Linked DNA regions of Homo sapiens: all the other regions are linked to region 3. Evidence: promoter capture Hi-C in 16 types of primary human blood cells and fetal thymus (Javierre and others, 2016). All regions are on one chromosome and are shown on one strand. The core of a region is centred on a gene start or on the middle of the fragment in contact, and the rest is flanking DNA. Distances in the headings are between cores, read along the strand shown.

Region 1 (4,317 bases), core at 1,230-3,729, 520 kb after region 3:
AACTAGTATCTGTTTTGGTCACCTTAAGCTTTGTCCTTTAATAGTCTTAAAAATTTATTTCATAATTTATCTCTGTTGATGTATGTGTTATTAACAACTGAAAGGAACGTTCGTGTATGTGCTCTAGACTTAGTGATTGCATATAATCTGTTATGGTTCTTATGATTATTGTTCTTTTCTCAGGTATTTATCTTTATACTGATTTTCATAAAGCAAACAATGTTAAAAGATACAGAATTTCTTGTAATTCATTTTTTTCTTTTTTTTTGGAGAAAATAAAAACAAGTCTTTAATAATCATTTTTACTTTTCTCAAAAATATCTTACTTGTTTAGTAAATCTCTTTTAATTTTTTTCACTATAATTGGATATATTTATTTCTCTACTTTGATGTTTGAATGTTGTCTAATTATATACTGGTCATATAAGGTGGTAGAATACAAAAAGGAATGTTTTGTTAATATTTGTCATTTCATGTTATACAATGTAGAGGTCGGCAAGTAGCTAGAATCCTACTTGAATATTTTTCTTAAACCTTTTTATTTTTCTAAAAAATGTATGAGATTTTTATTGCTTGAAGCTGAATAGCTTTATTTCAGTGTAAGTATTATAGCATAAGGTTTCAAAACAGCTCTTTTTATGTGAAACAGTACACTTTGTGGTGATTGTGCATTGATCAAATATCTGCTGGATACCCAGTATTTGCAAGGCACAGTATTAGGTAGTAGGTAATTTTCTAACCTGTCTGTATATCAAAATCACCCGAGTTATTACATTATATTATCTGTTAATTTAAGTAAAATGTAGATTCTCAATCCCAACCTTGGAAATTGTGTGTGTGTGTGTGTGTGTGTGTGTGTGTGTGTGTGTATGTGTGCATGTATGTATGTGGTGGGGTGGTGGTGTTGGTGACAGTGGCTAGGAAGCTCCTTACATGTTTCATATGTACCCAGCCCTATGGGTCCACTTGGAAACCATTGTTATAAGGGAAGTAGAAATGTGCAAGATAGGTTTCTGCCGTTAGGGATTTTAAAATACGAAAAGAGAGATTAGATGTATACTCCAGAGTGATGATAACTGAACAGTGATGTGAATAGGAAGGTGTAGAGAATAACTTTTTCATTTTTTTTTACCTCCTTAGCCTCAAGTTATATTTCTCATGAATTATTTTTTCTCAGCCTGTGCATTTTCTTTAAGCAGTTTTAAAATTTACTGTGTAGTAAATGTGAATGTTCAAAATATGAGATATTTGTGGTTTGGAACCTTTTAAACTGCAGAAAACCAAGGTCACGACTACTGTTTATAATCTACTACTGTTTATAAAACACACCAATTGATGAGACACAGAGTGTCAAGCATCAGGAGACTGATAACAACATCTCTTAATGGCTCATTTGTTGGCTATAGTGGTAGTGTCATAGGCTGACTTACCCTAATCATGTTAAAAATAACCACTAGAAGGAGTGAAGGAACGCAGCAGTACTTTCTTTTCTGTCTGTTTTTTTTTTTTGGTTTTATATAAACTTTATTATTTTAAAAAAGAATTTTAACTTTTATTTTAGATTCAGGAGGTACCTGTGCAGATTTATTACGTGGGTGTATTGTGTGATGCTAAACTTTGGGATATGAATGATCCCATCACTCAGGTAGTGAGCATAGTACCCAATAGGTAGTTTTTCAGTTCTTGCTCTCCCTACTCTAGTAGTCCCCATTGTCTGTTGTTCCCATCTTTATGTCCACGTGTACCCAGAGTTCAGCTCCCACTTGTAAGTGAAAACACACAGTATTTGGTTTTTTGTTCCTGCATTAATTCACTTAGGATAATGACGTCCAACTGTATCCATGTTGCTGCGGAGCACATGATTTTGTTCTTTTTCATGGCTGCGTAGTATTCCATGGTATATATGTACCACATTTTCTTTATCCATTTCACCATTGATGGGCACCTAGATTGATTCCATGTCTTTGCTATTGTGAATAGTGCTGCAGTGAGCATATGAGTGCATATGTCTTTTTGGTGGAATGATTTCTTTTCCTTTGGGTATATATCCAGTAATGAGATTGCTGGGTCAAATGGTAGTTCTGTTTTAAGTTCTTTGAGAAATCTCCAGACTGCTTTTCATGGTAGCTGTACTAATTTACATTCCCTCCAACAGTGTATAAATGTTCTGTTTTATCTGCAGCCTCACCAGCATCTGTTATTTTTTTGACTTTTTAGTAATAGCCATTCTGACTGATGTGACATGGTATCTCATTGTGGTTTTGATTTGCATTTCTCTGATGATTAGTGTTATGAAGCATTTTTTTTATGTTTGTTGGCCACTTGTGTGTCTTCTTTTGAGAAGTGTCTGTTATGTCCTTTGCCCATTTCTTAATGGGATTATTTGTTTTTTGCTTGTTGAACTACGTTCCTCATAGATTCTAGACATTAGACCTCTATTGGATACATAGTGTGAGAATATTTTCTCCCATTCTTTAGGTTGTCTGTTTACTCTGTTCATAGTTTAATTAGGTCCTACTTGTTAATCTTTGTTTTGATCGTAATTGCTTTTGAGGACTTAGCCATAAATTATTTCCTAAGGCTGATGTCCAGGATGGTATTTCCTATGTTTTATTCTAGAATTTTAATACTTTGAGGTCTTACATCTAAATATTTAATCCATCTTGAGTTAATTTTTGTATATGATGAAAGGTGGGAGTCTAGTTTCATTTTTCTGCATATGGCTAGCCAGTTATCTCAGCACCGTTTATTGAATAGGGAGTCCTTTCCCCATTCCCTATATTTGTCAACTTTGTCAAAGATCAGATGGTTGTAGGTGTGTGGGTTTACTTCTGGGTTCTCTGTTCTTTTCCATTGGTCTTTTCTTGTACCAGTGCCATGCTGTTTTGGTTACTGTAGTTTTATAGTATAGTTTCAAGTCAGTTAATATGATACTTCCAGCTTTGTTTTTTTTTTTTACTTGGGATTGCTTTGACTATTCTGGCTCTTTCTGGTACCATATGAGTTTTAGAATAGTTTTTTCTAATTCTGTAAAAAATGACATTGGTGGTTTCATAGGAACAGCATTGAATCTGCAGATTGCTTTGAGTAGTACGACCATTTTAACAATATTGATTCTTCCAACCCATGAGTATGGAATGTTTTTTCCATTTGTTTGTGTTATCTGATTTCTTTCAGCAGTGTTTTATAGTTCTCCTTGTAGAGACCTTACACCACCTTGATTAGATGTATTCCTAGATATTTTATTTTTTTGTGCTATTGTAAATGAGATTGCATTCTTAATTTGGCTCTCAGCTTGAATATTGTTGGTGTATGGAAATGCTACTCTTTTTTGTTCATTGATTTTGTATCCTGAAACTTTTACTTGACTCATTATCAGTTCTAGGAGCCTTTTGGTAGATGGAGTCTTTAGTGTTCTCTAGGTATAGAATGATATCATTGGTGAAGAGAGATAATTTGACTTCTTTTCCTGTTTGGATGTCTTAACATTTTTTTTTTTTTATTGCCAGATTGCTCTGGGTAGGAGTTGCAGTATTGTGTTGAATAGGAGTAGAAATTTAAGAAAGAATGGGGTAAACAGTATTGGTTGTATGCTCAACAAATGTTTGTTGAATAACAGGGTCAAAAGACACCAAGAGGAGTCCTTGACATTGCCAATGGTTATTTAAAAAAATCTAATGTATCAAATATTGATGTTTGAAATTTAGCGATTCCGGTATTCTGACTGCTTTTACTGTTGAATTATTTTTTCTAGTGAGTTCAGGAACATTATTATTATTTTTTATTATACTTTAAGTTCTGGGGTACATGTGCACAATGTGCAGTTTTGTTACATAGGTATACACGTGCCATGGTGGTTTGCTGCACACATCAACCCGTCACCTATATTAGGTATTTCTCCTAATGTTATCCCTCCCCTTGTCCTGCACACCTTGACAGGCCCCGGTGTGTGATGTTCCCCTCCCTGTGTCCATGTGTTCTCGTTGTTCAACTCCCACTTATGAGTGAGAACGTGCGTTGTTTGATTTTCTGATCTTGTGATAGTTTGCTGAGAATGATGGTTTCCAGCTTCATCCATGTCCCTGCAAAGGACATGAACTCATCCTTTTTTATGGCTGCATAGTATTCCATGGTGTATATGTGCCACATTTTCTTTATCCAGTCTATTATTGATGGACATTTGGGTTGGTTCCAAGCCTTTGCTATTGTGAATAGTGCCACAATAAATATACGTGTGCATGTGTCTTTGTAGTAGAATGATTTATAATCCTTTGGGTACATACCCAGTAATGGGATTGCTGGGTCAAATGGTATTTC
Region 2 (5,093 bases), core at 1,794-4,293, 540 kb after region 3:
TCTAATTATCTTCCCCTGTAAGTTACTTGATCTTTACCCTGAGGCCCTCAAGATTATTTTCGTTTTTAAAGTCTAATGGTTTTGCTGGGATATGTCTCAGTCTTGCATGTTGCAGGTCAGTCTTCCTTATATACCTGGTGGGCCTTTTTAATATGTATATTCATGTCTTTTAGTTTTATAGTATTAAAATTTTAAATATTAGTTCTCTTTCACTGTTTTGCTTTTCTTTCTTTGGGTATCCATTTATATGTATGTTGAATCTTTTCATGTCTTTCAACTACTTTTCTTCTGTTCTTTTTTAGTTGCTTCTTGATCTCATTTTCATTCTCATGGTTCATTTCTGCCCTTTCTGCCATCCCCTTATTTAATTTTTATTTGAATGTGTTCTCCTTTGGGTACCTTATAATTTAGTCTTCATTTCTTATATGATTTTGATTTTTTCTTTCCATTTCTTTCTTGAATTTAATCATTACTTATTTATTTCTTCATGTATGTCATCCATTTATTTTCTTAGTTTTTGGATTTTGGATTCAGAGTGTTTGTTTTACATCCCCAAATGCTTGAGTGTTTTGTTACAGTTTTCTTCTGTTTGGCAGTTTGTTTATTTGGAGGGGGGGTGGATTTTATTTACTAAAAGGTTTTGTTTTGCATTTTCAGTTTTGGTTTTTTTTTTTTAAATATATATGTATTTTTATTATACTTTAAGTTCTAGGGTACATGTGCACAATGTGCAGGTTTGTTACATACGTATACATGTGCCATGTTGGTGTGCTGCACCCGTTAACTCGTCATTTACGTTAGGTATATCTCCTAATGATATCCCTCCCTCCTCCCCCACCCCACAACAGGCCCCGGTGTGTGATGTTCCCCTTCCTGTGTCCAAGTGTTCTCATTATTCAATTCCCACGTATGAGTGAGAACATGTGGTGTTTGGTTTTTTGTCCTTGCAATAGTTTTCTGAGAATGATGGTTTCCAGCTTCATCCATGTCCCTACAAAAGACATGAACTCATCCTTTTTTATGACTGCATAGTATTTCATGGTGTATATGTGCTACATTTTTTTAATCCAGTCTATCATTGTTGGACATTTGGGTTGGTTCCAAGTCTTTGCTATTGTGAGTAGTGCTGCAATAAACATACGTGTGCATGTGTCTTTATAGCAGCATGATTATAATCCTTTGGGTATATACCCAGTAATGGGATGGCTGGGTCAAATGGTATTGCTAGTTCTAGATCCCTGAGGAATTGCAATTTTAGTTTTATGTTAGTGTTGTACAGATGAAGAATATTTACCTCTGTGCGTTTTGTGGTTTGGGGTGGTTTCCAAGATTCTTAGTTCAAAATTGCCCTTTCTCTCTGTGTAGCAACATGCAATTTCTTTAGTGGGTGGCTTTAAAGAAGGGGCACTGTGGGGAGGTGTTTTATTTTTAAAAATAAAATAAATTATCTTTCAGGATCATTAATTTCCTCTCTTGCTTCTTTTTTTCTTCATCCAGTCTCCAAAGGTGATATCTTTGTTTTATTCTGTTCTCCCCGAAAGTGATACCTTTCTGGAATTGCCACTGGAAGACTAGTGTACTATTAATTATTTTCATTGTAGTCAGTGCTGTAATCTTCCAGGATTCATTTCAGTATTTTTGCCCTTAAGATGGATTTATCTGGGAGTGATTTTCCTTTTCCCTCTTCCATGCACTGCTTTTGCACCCCCCAAGCCCTGCCACTCTGCAGTAGCTTTCAGAGGGTGCTCAAAAGTTAGCACTGATAGAAAAGTGGTGTTTATTTTGAGACTTACTGGAATTTGAACTCTGCAGTGTTCTCTGTCTTCTAGTTACACTGTAGGCTTGAGATTTGTGTAGTTTTATTTGTTCTCATTATTTGTATTTTTTTTTTCGAGGATATGAGGACTTAAAAAGCACTAGTTTCCTGAGCCTATTTATTTAGCATTTAGTTTAACTTAATGGTACAATTTTAAAAAATCAAATTAAGGAATAGTTTACCTGTATGCAGATTATCCTCCCACCTACTTTTAATATGCAAAATAATATATAGCTATTTTTCTTTTTCTTATTTTTTTGGTGGTTGTTATTTATAATGACTTATTTCCAGGCAGAAATGAAACGAAACAAGAAACTTTTAGCTTTCCTTCTGAAATATGCCATTTCTTCAAAATACGTAGAAGATAAGCTTTGGCAGTGGTCATTATTAATTGAACAATGCTTATTTTGTGTTATGATTGAATGGGTCAAACATCTAGTCAGTTGGCTTTTGTCATTTCTCATAATGAACCTTTTTTGTCTTCGTTTAACTCTGTTATCTATAGAAAGCAATGCTATCATTGAAATAATGTGAGATATTTCATATTAATACGATTTCTTCAGAACACTGTATTCATTTATAGGAATGATATATGTGGGATAAGAATACTAGTACTAATCTTAGAAACTTGGTTGTTTGTATTGTTGCTATAATCTTTAAAAAATAACTAACATTTATTGAGGTATTATTTATCAAAGATAATACCTTGTAAGCTTTATCCCACCTTTTTCCAACTACTCTGTGAGAGTAAGTTCTGTTAGCCTCTAAATGTTTCTAAATGAGCAATTGAGGCTTCGAATGGTGAAGAAACTTGCCCATTAATGGTAGAGCTGGCTTTGAATCTAGATCTGACTAGTACCAAATCCCATGATCTAGCATGTGTTTGATAATTTCCTGTCACAATTTCAGGCCCTGAAATGTGTTTTTCTTTCATTTGTATACATCATGATATATATTTGCTAACATTTTATTATATAAAGTGCTTTTAAAAAATTATCATTTACTTCTCTTAGCATCTCATATGGGACCTTGCAAGTCACCAGTATTCAATAATTGTTTATTTGATTTCATTATATTAAGAAGACATGTAAAGGAAAGAATATTGAGTCATTGGGAAAGTAAATAATCTATAGAACCATTATATGGAGTCATGGGGAAGGAAAAGAGCTTATTGGAATTATACAAAGCATATTAAAAAGAATGATGCTTTCTTATGAATTATAGAATATTTTCTATAAATAAAACTTGTTAAAAATAATCAGTAGTTTAAAAGTAATAAAAGATCAGTAATTTTAAAAAGATATGGCTAGTCTTTACACAGCATTTCAGTAGTCTTTGGAAAACAGCACAGCAATTAATGAGAAAGGGAAGAAGTCTTGAGGCTGACCTAAAAGGGTCGGTCAAGTTTACAGATACATTAAATACACTTACTATTAGCTGTTTGGTGAATTTCTTCCTTTCAGTGCTGGTAAGTGCTTTCTAACTTGGAAGAATGTACCATTTAAACGCCAGAAAGTATGGTGACTTTTTCCCTATTGTTATCCAGGCCACGCTGCTAATCCTACTTTATCTAAGTAAACTAGTGATGTGGAAATCTGGACTCAGCAGAACTTTTATCATAATAGCAAGCTATCAGTTCAGTCAGTTTTCTTGCAGGGTGAGCTAATGTTCAGGATTTAGTGTACCAGCAGAATGAAAGTTAGTGAGAAGTCTTTGATGTTTCTATGTCCGATATTGTCTTAGAAGCTTCAATTTAAAACACCCCAGTAAGAAAGTTGGCATAAATTTTGCTTGCTTAGAGCAGACTATAAACATTTACCTTATCTGTGTATAAATGGGAGTAGATTGACTGACTTCTTTTTGTGAATTTCTCCTTAGGTAGTAGTAACAGTGTTTTACCTAAATATAATTCTTGGCTTCCCTTTCTACATTTTTTTCCCTCCCACTGATTTTAGTGGCAAGTGTTAAAAAAACATTTCATTATAGGTAATCTTTATTGTTAAAAATAATTATTTTTAAAATCAGAGCCTCAGGTACATTATGATACAATGCTTATACCAATAACCAGCCATGTTTCCTATTTTTCATTTAATGTATTCTAACAAAACACTGAGTTCTAGTTATGTTTATGCTTTCTCCACAGGCTGCTTTGTACCGCCTCAGTGGAGACTGGAATCCCTTACACATTGATCCTAACTTTGCTAGTCTAGCAGGTGAGTTGTCTTTAATATGTATCAATGAAAAATATTAGCTATTCGATATTTAATTAAATAATGTAAAGACACTACTACTTATGACTGGTAGTTTGAGTAGCATTTAAAAAAATGTTATTTTATTTATTACATTTATGCAAAGGATATGGAAAGGTAGGAAATGTGTTCAGAAAATAGTGCACTTGAAATTCAGATTATGGTGGAGGGAAGTTCCCGCTAGTGCGAGGTCTAGGATAGGACCACGAGGGTGGGTGTGTGAGTTATCACAAAGGACAAGGTCATTGGAGAGAGAGCAAGGAACTGAAAGGTTAGGGAAGGATCATGTACCTGTGTGGATGTTGAGAGTACCCTGGATGATTTCATGGTTACAACCAAAACTAAACAAAACAATTGTGTTTCCAGATCTCTCACATTCTTTTCCTGTTTTGTTTTTTTTTTTTCTTTCTTTCTTTATTTCATAATTTCCTCCCAGGAAATACTCTTTAAAAAATATCTACTGTGTTTCTTAAAATAGATGGTATAATTCCTGCTAATGCAGTCTAAGGACATTTTTAAAGTCCTGAATTAACTACACTTGATTTTTAAACTTTAAAGGTACCTGTATCTAACTCAGTGTTCTCTCTTTTCCTAGGTTTTGACAAGCCCATATTACATGGATTATGTACATTTGGATTTTCTGCCAGGCGTGTGTTACAGCAGTTTGCAGATAATGATGTGTCAAGATTCAAGGCAATTAAGGTAAATGTGTATTACTACGTAATTTGAATATTACTTCCTTTTTCTATCTTTAGAGAAGAAAAGGGGTTTTAGTGATTTAATTGAAAATAGATATTGTACTACAGCAATGTACATTTTTATTATTTCATTGACCTGGCAATCAGCACACTTTCTTTTTGTAGCTATAAATAGCTCTGTTGCACATGCACCAGGAAGGATGCACAGTTGCAATTTTGACAGATTAACTGGGTTGCTTTATAAATTAATTAGGTGCATATATTATATATATATATATCAGTACGTATGCCTTGAAAACTCAAGATTTGCTTTTTTTAACTGTTTTATCA
Region 3 (5,438 bases), core at 2,765-5,264:
TCTAGGCCTAGTATGTGCCTGGCAGATGGCTGGTGTTTAGTAAATGGGTGTTAAATACATAGATATGGTGTATTATAATTCTTACAGCTTGTTACTTTTGAAAAGAAAACACTGGAGAGACAAAAACTTCCATCTCAGGGTCTATCTGATTCAGTTTGTGTGCATGCTCTCCCTGCTGTTTCTTCCCTTAAACAGGTTTTAAAACATGCTGTTTTTAGACATTATTCCATTATTCCTATGACCAATGATTTGCAAGTGGTTTATGACTCATCCTCAAATGCATAGCAGTAACTACAGAAGATATAAAAGTATAATTAAGATGCCTAAAATATTTCTGGAATGAGGCCCTAATTCTTCCCAGTCAAGCTTGTACCCTTTTATCACCATCCAGTTGCTTTTTTTATAAAATAAAAAAGTATAAATTATACAGCAAAAGTCATGTACAAAAGTCAAACTTGTCACCACCTTTCAAATATAAAAATATTACAGTGGCTGGCTTGTTGGGTTATAGAGCATTAGGCCCAAACTCCCTGACATAGTTTATTTTGCCCTTCCTGGGGCAACCACCACTAATCTCTGCAGCCTCGTCTCTCACCACTCCCTCCCTTCTCCCAAACTCCCCAAATACACTATATATTCTATACACTAAACTCTCGTACATACTGTTTCCTCAACCAGAGCTCACTTTTTCCTCCCTCAAGCCCTCTCCTCAGCCAGTCTCTTCCCTAATTAATCCTAAATATTAGAATCCAGATTAAATATTTCGTTATGTCCTTCAGTCTCAGCTTACATGTCACTTCCAAGATTTCCCAGATCTTTTCCTCATCTCCACCATACAAACTTAGGGTTAGGAGCACCTTTTTATATGTTCCTATAACACCTTACATATACCCATCTAAGAAAGAAGCTGATAGTATAGAATTCAACAAGAAAAAGACCACATGCTTATGTGCATTTTTATATATATATATATATATATATATATACACACACATATATACATACATATACACACGTATATTACACTTTATTTCCTAACAAAATTAAAGACTCTAGTAAAATCTCAGAAGCACTACTTGGTGAACATGCATCCTTTTGCCTTCTGACTCTTACTCCACGACGGCCTAATTTCGAAGACTGCCAAAGGATATCAAACACATATAAAAAGTGTTTAAATCTTTCCACTCTGATGTCATATAATTTAAATAAGAATGTTTAAATTAGCAAGATGATTTTAACTTGAACAAAGTTATTTTACAAATACTTTTACTTTGAAAAGTTCAGAAAACACTTTTTGCTGTTTTCTTCAGAGCTTCAAAAATTTGATGCGGTTCATTACCTATAATTTGAAAAAACTGCCCTACATCATAGGATTTTTAATCTGAGGGCTCCCCATTTAAATAGATATGCCACTTTCCACTAGATCCTGATATTCAGGAGAACTGAAGTCATCTCTTTTTCATCTTTGTATTTCATAGCCTATCACACCGTCTGGAAGAAGGGTCTCCAAAAATATTTGTTGAACAACTGAATTTTACCAAGTAGTTCAACAAATCTTTTGTGCACCTACCATGTCCCATGACCCTCAGCCTTCTTATGTTATCTCAAATAATGCTAATGATACATACTCTGGGGAGATCAGCCAAGGTTTTGTCTTTATCTGAAAAAAAAAATTATATACGTTTGGGAATGGGGGATAGGAAAGGTATTCTAAGAGGTAAATGGAATACAGGCAGGTTTTGTAAACAAGACATACATAAAGGACAGAATACATTTATAGAATCTATATCTTGCAATAATAAATTACAAGTTTGGGATCTTTTAAAGAATATTCCATTCATATTTAAGATATGTTATATTTATAATGAGCAAGATTCTGCTGAAAAGTTAAACTGAGTTTGCACTTCCTGAACAAAGCTAATTTCTGGAACTCCCCTAGGCTGTGACATTTGTAGTAATGTGTTCAGAGAAATGAATACAGTTTAAGTAAATAGCCAAATAACTGTGACTCAATGATCAATCAAATCTAAGAATGCATTTTTAAAACTATTTTAACCATAAATGTAAAGAAGTTCACCCAGGGTACTAGTAGAACTCTAATAGCATAATGAAATAAAATATAAAAAGCCATCAATTCATTTATATTTTATTGACAACACCTAAATATTCTCCATAATTCTAGAATTATATTCTACCTAGTTAAAGCAAATAAAATGCATAGCAAGAGGGAGGAGAGCTTTTCACAGGTAGCAAATTTCACAAGAAATAAGCAAAGTGTAGAATTATAGTCTACCTAATTAAAGCAAATAAAATGCATAGCAAGAGGGAGGAGAGCTTTTCACAGGTAGCAAATTTCACCAGAAATAAGCAAAGTGCAGAAATGTTGGGGAAAATTGTAATCCTAAGGTATTAACTAAACGTAACTGAAAAAAAGATTAAATTCAGCAAGCCATTTTTTTAAAAAAGCATCATAAAATAAATCTCTGCTAAACAGATTTTTACCTATATATTTATAATTAACAATTCTGAACAGACTAAAAACTAAATAAAACTAGCACAGTAATTTAGCCTTTGATTTATATTTGAAACACTTTTCCTCCAGTATCCTATTGAGACCCCTCCAAACATTTTTAAATGCTTCCCCAACCCCCTCAGACGACTTGTTTAAATTAATTGTATTCACAAACCCCTATGTTCAAATTCACAGTCCCTTCTAATCACAAATTTTCCATCCTCCTCAGAGGTTTACTGAGCGTCAACTATACATAGTACATTTAGAAAATATAAAAACATTCTACATTCAAGATCCTTTCCTCTGAAGTCTTACAATCCAGCCCTAGGAAAAGGTCAAAATGTCCAAAGTGTGATACTCCAAGTATTCAAGCAGTAAAGATCTTCAACCATATTCAGTCCTTCTGTTCCCCTTCTTGGAATGCTTTTCCCCTGGCTGGATTCTTCTCATCTTTCAAATCTCAGAGATAGTTCATGACACCATTGAGCTATTTTCTACAGTAGCAACCCATTCCTTTCCTTCACTGCTTTTTTCCCAGTTTGTAATTACATATTTGATTGCTTGTTTGCTGGTTTATTATCCGTATCCAGTAAGAGAATACTCTACAAAAACATGAACTCCACTGCATTGTCAGTGATTACCAAAGCACTCAATAAACACCTGATAAATTAATGCACAGGTCTGGTGTTCCGAAGAAAGGTCTGAGCTAGACACACTGGGATATAGATGATAATTTACCATGAAAACTGATTTTATAAATTACCAGTGGGACGTATGTAGGGTTTGAAGAGAACCTAGAATGAACACCTGAAAAGGCCCTATATTTAGAGTTCTGGTAGGATAGGTAAAGGAGACTGTCTCTCTCCTCCAATCCACTTTATGCTTTTTAACTGTGATATAACTATGCCACTTAAATATGACTGTGTAACTATTTTACAAGTATTACTGTCATCACCCCTTACTTCCCCTATTGGACGCTTAAGTTTCTTGGAAACAGAACTGATGTCTGCTCATCCCATGATACGCTCAGCATATTGCAGGAAGTAAGGTTAGATAATCATGAACCTGGAAAAAGGGCTTCTTACTAGGTAGCTGTGCCTGGCATTTCCGAGATTTCCAACGTGCACCCGCCAACTCCGCCGCCCTAATCGCAGAGCTGCCCGAGCCGCCGACTCCCCGGCAGGGGGCGCCGCACCCTCCTCCGAAGGCCGCTGCCGGCTGCAGTCCCCGCCCCCAGCCCCGCGGTCACCTGCAGCGGGTGCACTCAGGCCTCCGCTCGGCCGGCTCCACCGGCAGCTCCCACAGCCCGTCCGCACTGTCGTCGTCCGCCTCTGCGCCCAGGGCAGCCGCCGCCGGCACTGCGCCGCCCTCCCGCCGCTCCTTGTCGTTCGGCGTCTGAGAGCTTGAGGCCCCAGAAGGCCGCGCAACGGGCTCCTGGAGTGTTCGTGCCTCTTTCTGCGACTCCATGGCGGACACTCCGGTCAGGCCGTGGCATTGAAGCCCGGCTGCCGCCGGGGGGCGCCACGCGCTGTAGAAACCGGCCCGCGCCGCGTAGCGCAATGCCCGCACGCCACGTACGGGGGGCGGGTCTCCGAAGCCCAGGCTGGAGGTCCCACCCTGCCGCTGGGAAGGAACGAGCCCATTGGTCCGTGCCCAGTGGGACCGTTCACCTAGAACTGGGTAGGCAAGTGTGGGCAGTGTTGGAGTGCTGGTGAGGTTAAGTAGCGTCATTGGGAGAGGTAAGGGAAACCTCCCCGAGAGGACCCCAGTACCAAGCCCGAATTTAACTCCTTTAAAAGTTAAAATAAAATGGAATTCTGCATTTTCCGCCTTGGGATGGCAGTTTAAGAATTTGCAGGATTTCCACGCGTGCATGCATCGCAGGTGCGGCAGCTGATGCACTTATTATTTAAAGGCCAACAAAGGAGAGGTTATATCCACTGGGAACTACTCACAGCTGGTCCGTTTCCTTATGTGAATTTCCTGCTCTTCTATGTCTTGTGCTAATAAGACATCAAGCATGCTATTTTACACTGGACACCAGATATTTGTTAAATTAGATTTTTAGATCGTCCCCGATCAGGAAGCAATAGGAGAGCTGGCCCGGGGTACCAATAGGTTTTATGTATGAGGAAACAAGCCCTAGAAAGGTAACGTTGCCCAGGTATTTAACAACTACTGGATACGGCGGTATATAGCACAGCAGCTGTTTTTTAAAAGCCAAAATGAAATCTATGTTAGAATGAAGGCAGAAATACTATTTACCCAAAATGGGTATCGAATTCCTTTTGTTTATTAATGCTTTGTGTTACTTCCAGCAATACACAACATTAAAACAGAATTAAGCTTGGTTTTGATCAATCATGTGAATTAAGCTTAGGAATCACAGTTGTCTTAACTCTATAGTTGTAATAGATTAAATGTGAGGCAAAGTAGACAACACAGTAATAGAGCAAATACTGTATTTCTTAAAATGTTTATTTCACATTAGATTTTTCAGTCATCTTAAAATCAAGTTTGTGAATAAAATACCGTGCTGTTTTCAACTATCCTACGTTCTTTCCCCCCGGAAACAGCACCTCTCTTTTCCTTTGGAGCGTCCTATGTGAGGGATAGAAAAAGGCTGAAACACCCACCTGGTGATGGACGTAGAGTGGGAGAAAGAACTAGCAATTATGCCATTTGGAATCGGAGGATAAACAAAATCCAGAAACTGTAGGAAAGGAGATGAATCAGAAAATTCATCTTGTCTGTAGATTTAGGTTGGGGAACCAATTCTTTAACTGCCAAAATTAAATTCTCATGTGACTTATCTTTAAACGAAAGGAAGCTGCTCATCTTTAATTTCAAGAGGTGAAATGTGCTCAAGTCCTCTAAGGTCCCTTGAGACTCCCAATTGTGTGGTGTGAGAAGACAGATGATAAGG
Region 4 (4,921 bases), core at 1,683-4,182, 760 kb after region 3:
AACATCAGTGAGTATCAAAGTCCAGCTGGAACCACAACTTGAATCAGCACCATTTGCCAAGCCCAGTCTAGACTAGTTGGCTGTCAAAAGAATCAATGATGTGTGAGTTCAGTTGAGTTTAGCAGAACCAAACCTCTCATGCTAACCTGTAGATTCCTGAGACATACATGACTTTGTTTTATGCTACTGAGATTTCATGTCTATGTTTTGCAGCATTACTGTGGGAACAGCTAACTGATATGTATCTGTTATACGCAATTTAAAGTATTTCAGCAGACGTTGATAATATGAAGTGTGTGTGTGATCCTATCTTTAGCTCACTGGGACTAAGTGCTGCATAGCTTTAGCAATTATGTTTTCCTATTCTTTTTCCTGTTGATGGTTGGAATGAGCATGTAACTTAGTTTTTTCCACCAATGAGATGTGTGGCGAGGCTTTCTGTGTGTGTGTGTGCGTGTGTGCATGTGTAAAACTTTTTTTTCCTTTCCTGATAAGAGGGGATACATTGGAAGAGAATTTCTCTGTTCTGTTCTTTCAGTCTTCATGTCTGAAGCTGAGGCAGTTGTCCATGTCCATTCAATAAATTAGTCTGAAGCTTTAGACAACACCTGAGTATAGCAGAGATGGAATGATCCTGAGTGCATTATGCCAATAAACCACTCAATTACCTCTAAGCTTTGTGTTATATGAGAGAATACACTTTCTTTATTTTTAAGCTGCTTGAGTTGGGTTTTCTTTACTTGCTGCTGAAAGTATCCTGACAGGTAAGTGTGTAGTGTGTATGCATGTGGGAATGCAAGGAGGATTAAATACAGTAGAAGTCAGAGTGAAAGGAAGGAAATAGTTAAGGTCATCCCTCATGAAATGGAAGGGATATGGCAGCATACGTTAGGTGGTATGTAAGCTGAGAACAGGTGGAAAACAGCCCACATCTACCTGGATTTTCCTCTGTACCTCCTGCCATACGTTTATTTGCCCTGCATGGATTGTTAAAAAGTAAAGGGAGGCACAGTAAAATTTTAAAGAGTTTATTTGAGCAAACAGTGATTCATGAATCAAGAGTAGCAGTTTCAAACCAGAAGTGGTTCAGGAGATCCACAGAGAGAATACAAGTGGGAGGCATTTATAGGACAAACTCAAAAGTAATACAAAGAAAATATTTGATTGGTTGCAGTCATACAGTTGCCTTATTTGGTGTATCCCATTGGAAAATGCCTAGTTACATAAGTATATGTTTGTTGGTTGCTTCTGACTTGTCGAGCTTAAATTCTGTTTTTCTTTAACTTAGGCATTTACAAGAAATAGTTCAAGTTAAGTTTCACTTACGTTTGCAAAGCAAGCAAGGTTAAGGTTCCTTATGAGGGCCTAACTGGCTTTGTCTGTTCAGGGATTCTTTAGGCTTGGTCTCCATTTTAAAGTGCTTTAATAGAATTAGCAGCAAATGATGGGAAATGTACCACCATTGTTGACCCTTTTTGCAGAGTCCACATCTAGAACACCATGACCCATATAATACTTGCCCTGCCTCTCACTTTTGGAAAGAAGTAAATGTCTAGTAGGTCAGGTTGGCTCCATATCTCATCTGAAATTGAGTGACATATTATTTGAACACCATAACTTTGATGATAGACTCAATCCTGTTGTCCAGCCCGTATCCCAGGCCAATTAAGTCAGAATCTCTGGGGATAGAAACCAAGCATGAATATTTTCAAAGCTTCCCAAGTAAACTTAGAACAACAACAGGCCTTTATGATTCCATGGATCAGAAATCTGGGAGAAGCTTAGCAGGTGTTCTTAGTGGGTGGTTATGGCTAAGGGTGTTTCTTGCGGTTACAGTCAAGGTATTTTTTTTTTCTTTTTTTTATGGGACGGAGTCTCCCTCTGTCGCCCAGGCTGGAGTGCAGTGGCGCGATCTCAGCTCACTGCAAGCTCTGCCTCCCAGGTTCACGCCATTCTCCTGCCTCAGCCTCCCGAGTAGCTGGGACTACAGGCGCCCACCACCACGCCCAGCTAATTTTTTTGTATTTTTAGTAGAGACGGGGTTTCACCGTGTTAGCCAGGATGGTCTTGATCCTGGCTAACACGGATCCTCATGGTCTGCCCGACTGGGCCTCCCAAAGTGCTGGGATTACAGGCATGAACTACTGCGCCCAGCAACAGTCAAGGTATTGATAAGGTGTTGGCCAAGGCTGCAGTCATCTTAAGGCTTGAATGGGGCTGGGGATTTGCTTCCAAGATAGCTCACTCACATGGCTATTGATAGGCAATCTTAGTTAGTTTCTCACTGACTGTAAGAAGGAAGCATCAGCTTCTTGCTAAGTGGTTTTTGTCTCTCTCTAGGGCTGCTTGATGGTTCTTGAAACATGGCAGCTGGCTTCCCCTGAGTAATTCAAGAGAGCAATGTAGATGCTCTGATGTCTTTCATGATGTAGCCTCTTAAGTTATATGCCAATATTTCCACAATATCTTATTTGTTATATCGGTCAGCCCTATTCAATGTGAGAGGGGACTACGAAAGTCTTAATGCCAAGAGTTTAGGATCATTGGGACTGTCTTGGCTGCTACAATGGGATACTAATGAATAAATGATTTGTCCTGATTTCAAAAGTGGATGCTTGGTAGGCTAAATAATGAAATCCCAGGCTTGTGGCTTTCTTGAGGAACTTACATTGGAATCAAACTACTCTGTAGAGCAGCCCTATCAATTTCTGAAACACCAGGTGTCTGGGCGGAGCCTTTGGTCTATCTTAAAAAACATCATTCAAAGGCACAATGTCCTTTAGTGAAGTCCAACTCTGCCTCAAACTAATTTCATTCAGATTCAGATCAGCTGGGATTAGCAGCTGATGCTTAGCAAGCAAATAAATTAGGTGTCAGCTCTATTAGTACTGGTTCTTCTGAAAGTGAGAGGACTTATTATAACTACCAATTGTATATAGCTATAAAAGAGCTCTCTAACGTTAAGAAGTATACTGAATTATATAAAAATTGGGGGTTTCCTTCTCACCTTTTGCCAGCTTTCTGAGTATGGAAAAATAAGGGTTTTCAATGCAGTCCTGCAGTCCTTAGTCCTCTCTCTTCTTCATAATTGTCACTGCTGGAGTTGTTTCCTCCAACCAAACCAAATATTATCTATATACTGATATTGCTAATTTTTAGTCCAAATCCCATACCAAGTGCTGGACTTGCACAGCCAACTTCCTATTCAACATCTATCCCCTTGTGAATGACTACTGGGAATCCCAAATTTTATTCAAAGCCAAATTCTTAATTATTTCTCTATACTTGTTTCTCTATTTTCTTTCTTAGTACCTGAAATTCCATTTTTTTCCAGTTGATCAGGCAAAAGTTTTGGAGTCATCCTTGCACCTCTTTTTCTCTCATTCTTCACATGCAATAATCCATCTACAATGTTTTAAAGAATTCTCCCTGCAAAGTCTCTCTCAAGTCAAATTATTTTTCACTACTTCTACCACTACTATGCTGGTCCAAGGTATCCTCATCTTTTGCCTAGAAGTGCAACAGTATCTTAATGTATCTCTTTTCTCTAACTCGGTCTTTAAAACTAATTTTCCATATAGCATTTTAAAATGGGAGGCAGATGACAGTTTTCTTTTTCAAAATCTTCTGATGGCTTCATATATCTACAACTGTTATTTTGTCCTGTGATGCCTAACATGATCTATTCCCCATTCCTCTTCCACTCTCATTATCTCTCTGCCCTTATCTCTTACTCTCTCCCATATGCACTCCGCTTCACTCCACTCCACTTCACTCTCAAACTGGCCTTCTTGCTATTCTTTGCACACTAAGCATACTCATTCACCCTCAGGGCCTTTGTGTTGCCTGTCCCCACTGTCTAGAACTTCCTCACTACCCCTCATACTGCTTGATTTGCTTTCTTCCTTCTTTTATATCTCAGCTTAAATATCTTTCTAATAAAGAGGAATTTTCTTCCCTCCATATATAAAGAGTATTTTATTCAACCTCATGAATTCCCCTTACTCTATTCTTTTTCCTTCAAAATATTTATTATTACTTGATGTCCATTTCCTCATTTTATTGTGACAACCGTAATAGAATGAAAAGCTTCATCATGACAGCACCATTTGCAGTTTTGGTCTTTGCTGTATTGAGAAATATTAGAACCAATCATGGAAGATAGTAGGTACTCAATAAATGTGGTTTGAATGGAATTAGATTACATTTATTCATGACATTTCCTAAAATTTCATGTTCATATATCAAGACTGTCCTCTGAATAGCAAAACCAAAGTAAAGTACCACTGTGCCAAATATTTAAGGAGCAAAGTTACAGAATAAAAGGGGATCTTTAATATGTTCACTATTTCTTAAATTATCAACCTGAATTCAATATATCTAGGATTGATGAGCAAAATTATGAATTTAAATGATCATAAGATGTAACAGTATGTTTAATTTAAAAGACATTGTAGAAAGCAGACTTGTAAAAATCTTAAAAAAGTAGACTTTTTTCTAAAAAACAGACAAAAAAATGCCAGCACAGTGATAATTCAGGAAGTTTTATTTAATAGCAGCTGGTGTCTCTCTGATATATTAGAAAATACAATTAATTTTTTACACAATATTATACCGAAGCATATTTTGCTTTCATATTCTTGGAAGAAAATCCACTAGCTTAGGGCTACCAACCTGGCAGGACAAGTCAGTTATCAGACAGAGTAATCCAACACACCAAACAACTTCTATGCATAAATGGCACAATGATATAAACGGTGGCTGTGTAAAGTAAATTTGTTTGTGGAATTAAGGGGGTAGTATAACCACCCTAAGAGTGGTAGTGCTAGGGAACCAGAATAAAATCAAAGAAAGGAACAAGAAAAAGAGGGGGATTTCCTCTTCCGCTCTCATTACCTCTCTGCCTTTATCTTTTACTCTC
Region 5 (5,123 bases), core at 595-3,094, 560 kb after region 3:
CATCATTCAGTTCCCTCTTATAAGTGAAAACATGCGGTGTTTGGTTTTCTGTTCCTGCGTTAGTTTGCTAAGGATAATGGCCTCCAGCTCCATCCATGTCCCTGCAAAGGATATGATCTCACTCCTTTTTATGGCTGCAGAGTATTCCATTGTATATAGCTACCACATTTTCTTTATCCAGTCTATCATTGATGGGCATTTGGGTTGATTCCATGTCTTTGCTGTTGTGAATAGTGCTGCAGTGAACATTTATATGCGTGTACCTTTATAATAGAATAATTTATATTCCTCTGGGTAAATACCCAGTAATGGGATTGCTAGGTCAAATGGTATTTCTGCCTCTAAGTCTTTGAGGAATTGCCACACTGTCTTCCACTATGGTTGAATTAATTTATACTCCCCCCAGCAGTGTAAAAGTGTTCTTATTTATTCACAGCCTCACCAGCATCTATTGTTTCTTGATTTTTTAGTAATCGCCATTCTGACTGGCATGAGATGGTATCTCATTGTGATTTGATTTCTCTAATGATCAGTGATGTTGAACTTTTTTTCATGTTTGTTGGCCACATGTGTGTCTTCTTTTGAGAAGTATCTGTTCATGTCCTTTGCCCACTTTTTAGTTGGGTTGTTTTTTTCCTGTACATTTGTTTAGGTTCCTTGTAGACTATGGGTATTAGACCTTTGTCAGATGGATAGATTGCAAAAATTTTCTCCCATTCTGTAGGTTGTCTGTTCACTCTGATGATAGTTTCTTTTGCTGTGCAGATGCTCTTTAGTTTAATTAGATCTCATTAGCCAGTTTTTGCTTTTATTGCAATTGCTTTTGGCGTTTTTGTCATGAAATCTTTGCCCATGCCTATGCCCTGAATGTTATTGCCTAGATTTTTTTCTAGGGTTTATAGTTTTGGGTTTTTAAATTTAAGTCTGTAACCCATCTTGAGTTGGTTTTTGTATAAGGTGTAAGAAAGGGGTCCAGTTTCAATTTTCTGCATGTGGCTAACCAGCACTCACAGCATCATTTATTAAACCTATTAGAGAATCTTTTTTCCATTGCTTGTTTTTGTCAAGTTTCATAAAGATCAGATGGCTGTAGGTGGGCAGTCTTATTTCTGAGTTCCCTGTTTAGTTACGTTGCTCAGTATGTCTGTTTTGTACCAGTATCATGCTGAGGAATATGTCTTTCAATCCTGATGGGGCTTTGTAGAACTCAGCACACTTTATTTGAGGAAACAAGAATGCAAATTCAGGGATCAGGGGAGAAGGTTTCAGAAATTTGGAACTGTGATACTTAGAACAGTGATGGAACAGTAGAAGACCTCAATATGTTACTTATTTTAATGAGTGAACAGAATAAGTAGAAGGCATAGGAAGAAATTATATTTTTGGCAATTATGCCTTTGTCTCATGAACTGTATAGTATTTTTAAATTTATTTCAGAGTGATCTGTTGTTATACCAATTGAATTAATTGAGTTAATTGTTGGACATTTGGGTTGGTTCCAAGTCTTTGCTATTGTGAATAGTCAATGGCAGTATTTTTAATGTTGGTCTATTATTGTACTAAATAGTTGTTTATATTGAGCTTGGGAAAGCTTTCGTGTCCAATAGAAATAGCATATTAAAATAAATGCCACTGTATATTAATGAAAGTGTTGATTATATACCCTAGATACTTAAAACTTAAGGAAGTTATGTTTTAATTTTCTTACACATCTCTGTCAATATTTATGGTCAGAGAACTACTCATATCCAAATTTGGCAACTTATCAGTCATGCTCCTTAACCCTTCTGTAATATTTAATATTATCAAATGCCCCATCTTCCTTAATTCTTCTTACCTTTCAATGAGAAATATATTAACTTCTTAATGAACCTGTTAATCTGACTTCTACTTGTCTATTTTGTGATTTCCTTTGACTACCAGTGAAGTTCATTTAGAGAGTCAGTTCCCTAGGTTTTTACTGGGGTCTTATTCACATGGGCTCCTCTACCTGAACACATCCCCAAATTCCAGACTCAGGAGGAAAGCAGGTGTTTAGCATAAACCACGTTGTTTGTACAAACATGGCACAGAGAGCCACTCAGTGAGGGAATGGTGGGAAGCTTCCCAAAATTTAAGTTCCCAGATACCAGCCAGGCATCAACCTCAGAAGCATTCTAAGGGCAGCAGGCTCAAGGTCTGCTTTGTTAGCTCTTTTTCTACACTGATAGGATCAGCCCCAACCAAGCCACATGGCCTAAGAGCAAATCAGGTGTGATATCAGGAAATTTGGAGGACTGGAAAGCCATATCTCAAATATCCACCCCACAGGTTCTTTAGCTCTCTTAATTTGCTTCTTTACCTTAACATCAGGTAAACTATATATCCCTAAGCCTTCCAAGTGTCACCTGTGTGAGACTGTTCTCAATCGATCCTAACAGAATAATCTCTTGACTTCTCACAGAACTTTGTATATATTTTAAAGCAAACAATAAGAAAGCTGATTTTTTTTTCATTGGAAATAAATAGATTTGAATAGTATTACCCCAACATTTTAACTTTGCCTGTTAGGTCAACAAATAAAGCAGAAAAACTGAAAGATAATCCAGTTCCACTGAGAAATTCTGAAGTTCAGAAACTTCAAAAGCTGACAGTTATGGAAAGTGATTTTCTGAAGAGAAGAACATTTTAGGTCAATGTGGACTAAGCTATTTTTATGAGGGGAGAGGATAGAAAATAACCTATTTTACAATGCATAAATAGGCAAAATACAGAAATTGCAAGCCTTAGCTAAAAATGAGTCTAGATTTATATTACATGTATACATGGTATGTTGGTTGAAGTTGCCCAATTAAGTGATTTCTAGACATCAGGGTTAACGTAGCTTAAAAAAAAAGATAACCTGAGATTGCCGAGTGTTGAGGCACTAAAATTCAAAATTTAACCATGTAAGATCTGTTTGTAGCTTCATTCAAAATCCATCTTTTAAGAAGCTTGGTTACATAACTTTTAAGCCTACAGCTCACAAGAATGGAAAAACAGTCAAGTAGAAAGAACCATGTGTTGTTGCAGGGAGCACTGGCTGGGGGTAGTTTTTGTAGGCAGCATGGAAGAAGTCATAAAATTAACCCAGAAAACAGACTAAGAAGTGTCATTTGAAGTGAGGTTGAACAGCTCTATACACCTTAATCTCTTGAAGTTACAGGACTGTCAGTAAAGAACAATGATGGGTTAAATCAGGGGTCAGCATACATTTTCCGTAAAGGGCCACACAGTAAAGACTTTTGGCGTTGTGGGCCACATTTGGTCTCTGTACCGTATTTCTTAAAAAAAAAACAAAACAAAAAGAAAAACCTAAAATTGAAAAAGCCATTCTTAGTTTGCTAGCTGGACAAAAAACAGGCTAGGAACTGGATTTAGCTTGCAGGGTGGAAACTGGATATAGGTGCTGAGAGCCACTGGTTTAGAAAACAAAATTTTCAACTGTCAGCTTTATTTTTTTTAAAAATTTAATTTTTAAAAAATTTTTGTAAATTATTTTATTTCTTCCATGATGATTTAGTGGGACTATCTTCAAACCAGTACAAATATTTCATAAATAATATCTGGCTGTTTTCTAACCAATTGAGTAATATGTTCCACAGTAAGCCACCTCACCTCTTTGAGCAAGAAATACATTAAATTGGAATAGTAAAGACATTACTCAATGGATAAAGACAATTAAAATTTACTTTAAATATTTCTTTCGGGAAGAGGACACCACACTTCTACTCAATGAGTAGAAACATTTTTACAGTCCAGAGGTCTTTTATTTTTTTAACACCTACTATGCCATGAATTCATAGGGAATAAGTTCCAGCAGCTCAGGCTCCTTCCCATCGGTTCTCACAGTGTACTTCGCTGAGTGGAGCAGACTGGCGCTTCAGTTGAATCCAGGTACCTTTGTCTTTGGCTTCTTTTTCTGATTATTTTCCTTCACGCGTTTCAGGAAACTATCTTGGCTCTTAGAGTGCTTAATGTGTTCAATAAGCGCATTAATTCTCTTGGCAAGAATCTTGCCTTTAACTTGTTTGTTTACAATAAGGCCAACAGCATGCCAGGTAACATTGTAGACTCTTCCAGTTTTGCCATGATAACACTTGTGGGGCATTCCTTTTTGAGCAGTACCCATTCCCTTGATGTCTACAATATCACCTTTCTTATAGATTTGCATATACATGGCCAAAGGAAAAACTCTTGTTTTCTAAAACGCTTAGAGACCATATATCGGGTGCCTCTCCTCTTTGCCTTTGTCTTCATCATTTTGGTGAATTACTGGAAGATGGTGGTTCCAGCCGAAAGAACTGTCATATTTATTTGCCTTAAACAATTTATGAAAGTATGAATGCCTTTCAGGAAAATTTTTTCAATTATGAATGTCAAGGGACAGAACTAGGGTCAAGAAACAAATACTTAAAAAAGTTGCTTATTTATATTTTGCTTACTAATGGAGCTTTGTTTTTGCCATTCTTATTTAAATATGTTCACGTAAAATTTTCACCATTAGAGAATAGCTATTTTAAGTCACTTTGCTCATCATTTAACTTGTCTTTTCATATGCTTCCTGTTCCTTTAAGGCTCTTTCTATCTCATAATCTTTAAACCAAATAAAGTATATTAATGAAACAAAATGATTGGCATACAACTTGCGATTCTTGTTGAGATGTTGGAACTACCATGCATACAATTTATCCCATTCTTCCCACTGTTTTTTAAATATTAAAAATAGTAAGGCTCATTAATAACCCAATTTTTAAAAATGGGCAAATGATTAGGACATGCCACGTGTCACATTAGAAGTACTCAACACCATGAGAAGTCAGGGAAATGAAAATGAAAACCATAGTAAGCTACCATTACATACTAACTGAGATGATTAAAGTTAAAAAGACTGACAATACCAAATCTTGGTAAGCATGTGGATCAACTGGAAGTCTTATACACTGGTAGCAGTGTAAAATGGTATGACCAGTCTAGAAAAAAGTTTTAGCATTTTTTTTTATAACTAGTATACACTTTTCCTGTGAGTCAATTCAATTTCTAGCTACTTTCTCAAGAGAAATGAAAACATATTACAAAAAGGCTTATATAAGAATTTTTACAAC

Evidence for each region. The method cuts DNA at HindIII sites, captures the fragments that hold promoters and counts their contacts. A CHiCAGO score of 5 or more calls a contact.
Region 1: a contact is called between a fragment that was not itself captured here and the fragment with the promoter of DTWD2 in region 3, in 7 of 17 cell types (non-activated CD4 T cells, total CD4 T cells, activated CD4 T cells and 4 more). The highest score is 10.4, in non-activated CD4 T cells.
Region 2: a contact is called between a fragment that was not itself captured here and the fragment with the promoter of DTWD2 in region 3, in 5 of 17 cell types (naive B cells, total CD8 T cells, non-activated CD4 T cells and 2 more). The highest score is 8.6, in naive B cells.
Region 4: a contact is called between a fragment that was not itself captured here and the fragment with the promoter of DTWD2 in region 3, in 2 of 17 cell types (total CD8 T cells and naive CD8 T cells). The highest score is 6.6, in total CD8 T cells.
Region 5: a fragment that was not itself captured here is called in contact with the fragment with the promoter of DTWD2 in region 3 in 3 of 17 cell types (erythroblasts, total B cells and activated CD4 T cells); the score reaches 6.1 in erythroblasts.

What each region holds. Positions count from the first base shown.
Region 1 is chr5:119,502,247-119,506,563 of GRCh38, forward strand. The region is part of intron 14 of HSD17B4 (hydroxysteroid 17-beta dehydrogenase 4); the gene reads left to right. Among named protein-coding and RNA genes, the nearest start is that of HSD17B4, 52 kb to the left of the region's middle. The HindIII fragment of the contact is 4,906 bases long and covers 27-4,317 here.
Region 2 is chr5:119,521,257-119,526,349 of GRCh38, forward strand. It overlaps HSD17B4 (hydroxysteroid 17-beta dehydrogenase 4), which reads left to right. Exons shown (of 24, transcript NM_000414.4): 18 at 3,960-4,029; 19 at 4,661-4,767. Among named protein-coding and RNA genes, the nearest start is that of HSD17B4, 71 kb to the left of the region's middle. The HindIII fragment of the contact is 1,033 bases long and covers 2,528-3,560 here.
Region 3 is chr5:118,984,533-118,989,970 of GRCh38, forward strand. It overlaps DTWD2 (DTW motif tRNA-uridine aminocarboxypropyltransferase 2), which reads right to left and starts at 4,015. Exons shown (of 6, transcript NM_173666.4): 1 at 3,762-4,015. The coding sequence starts at 3,979. RefSeq lists a silencer at 3,599-3,928. The HindIII fragment of the contact is 4,492 bases long and covers 365-4,856 here.
Region 4 is chr5:119,746,113-119,751,033 of GRCh38, forward strand. No RefSeq gene overlaps it. Among named protein-coding and RNA genes, the nearest start is that of FAM170A, 120 kb to the left of the region's middle. The HindIII fragment of the contact is 2,309 bases long and covers 1,779-4,087 here.
Region 5 is chr5:119,543,326-119,548,448 of GRCh38, forward strand. It overlaps the pseudogene RPL21P58. Among named protein-coding and RNA genes, the nearest start is that of FAM170A, 84 kb to the right of the region's middle. The HindIII fragment of the contact is 511 bases long and covers 1,590-2,100 here.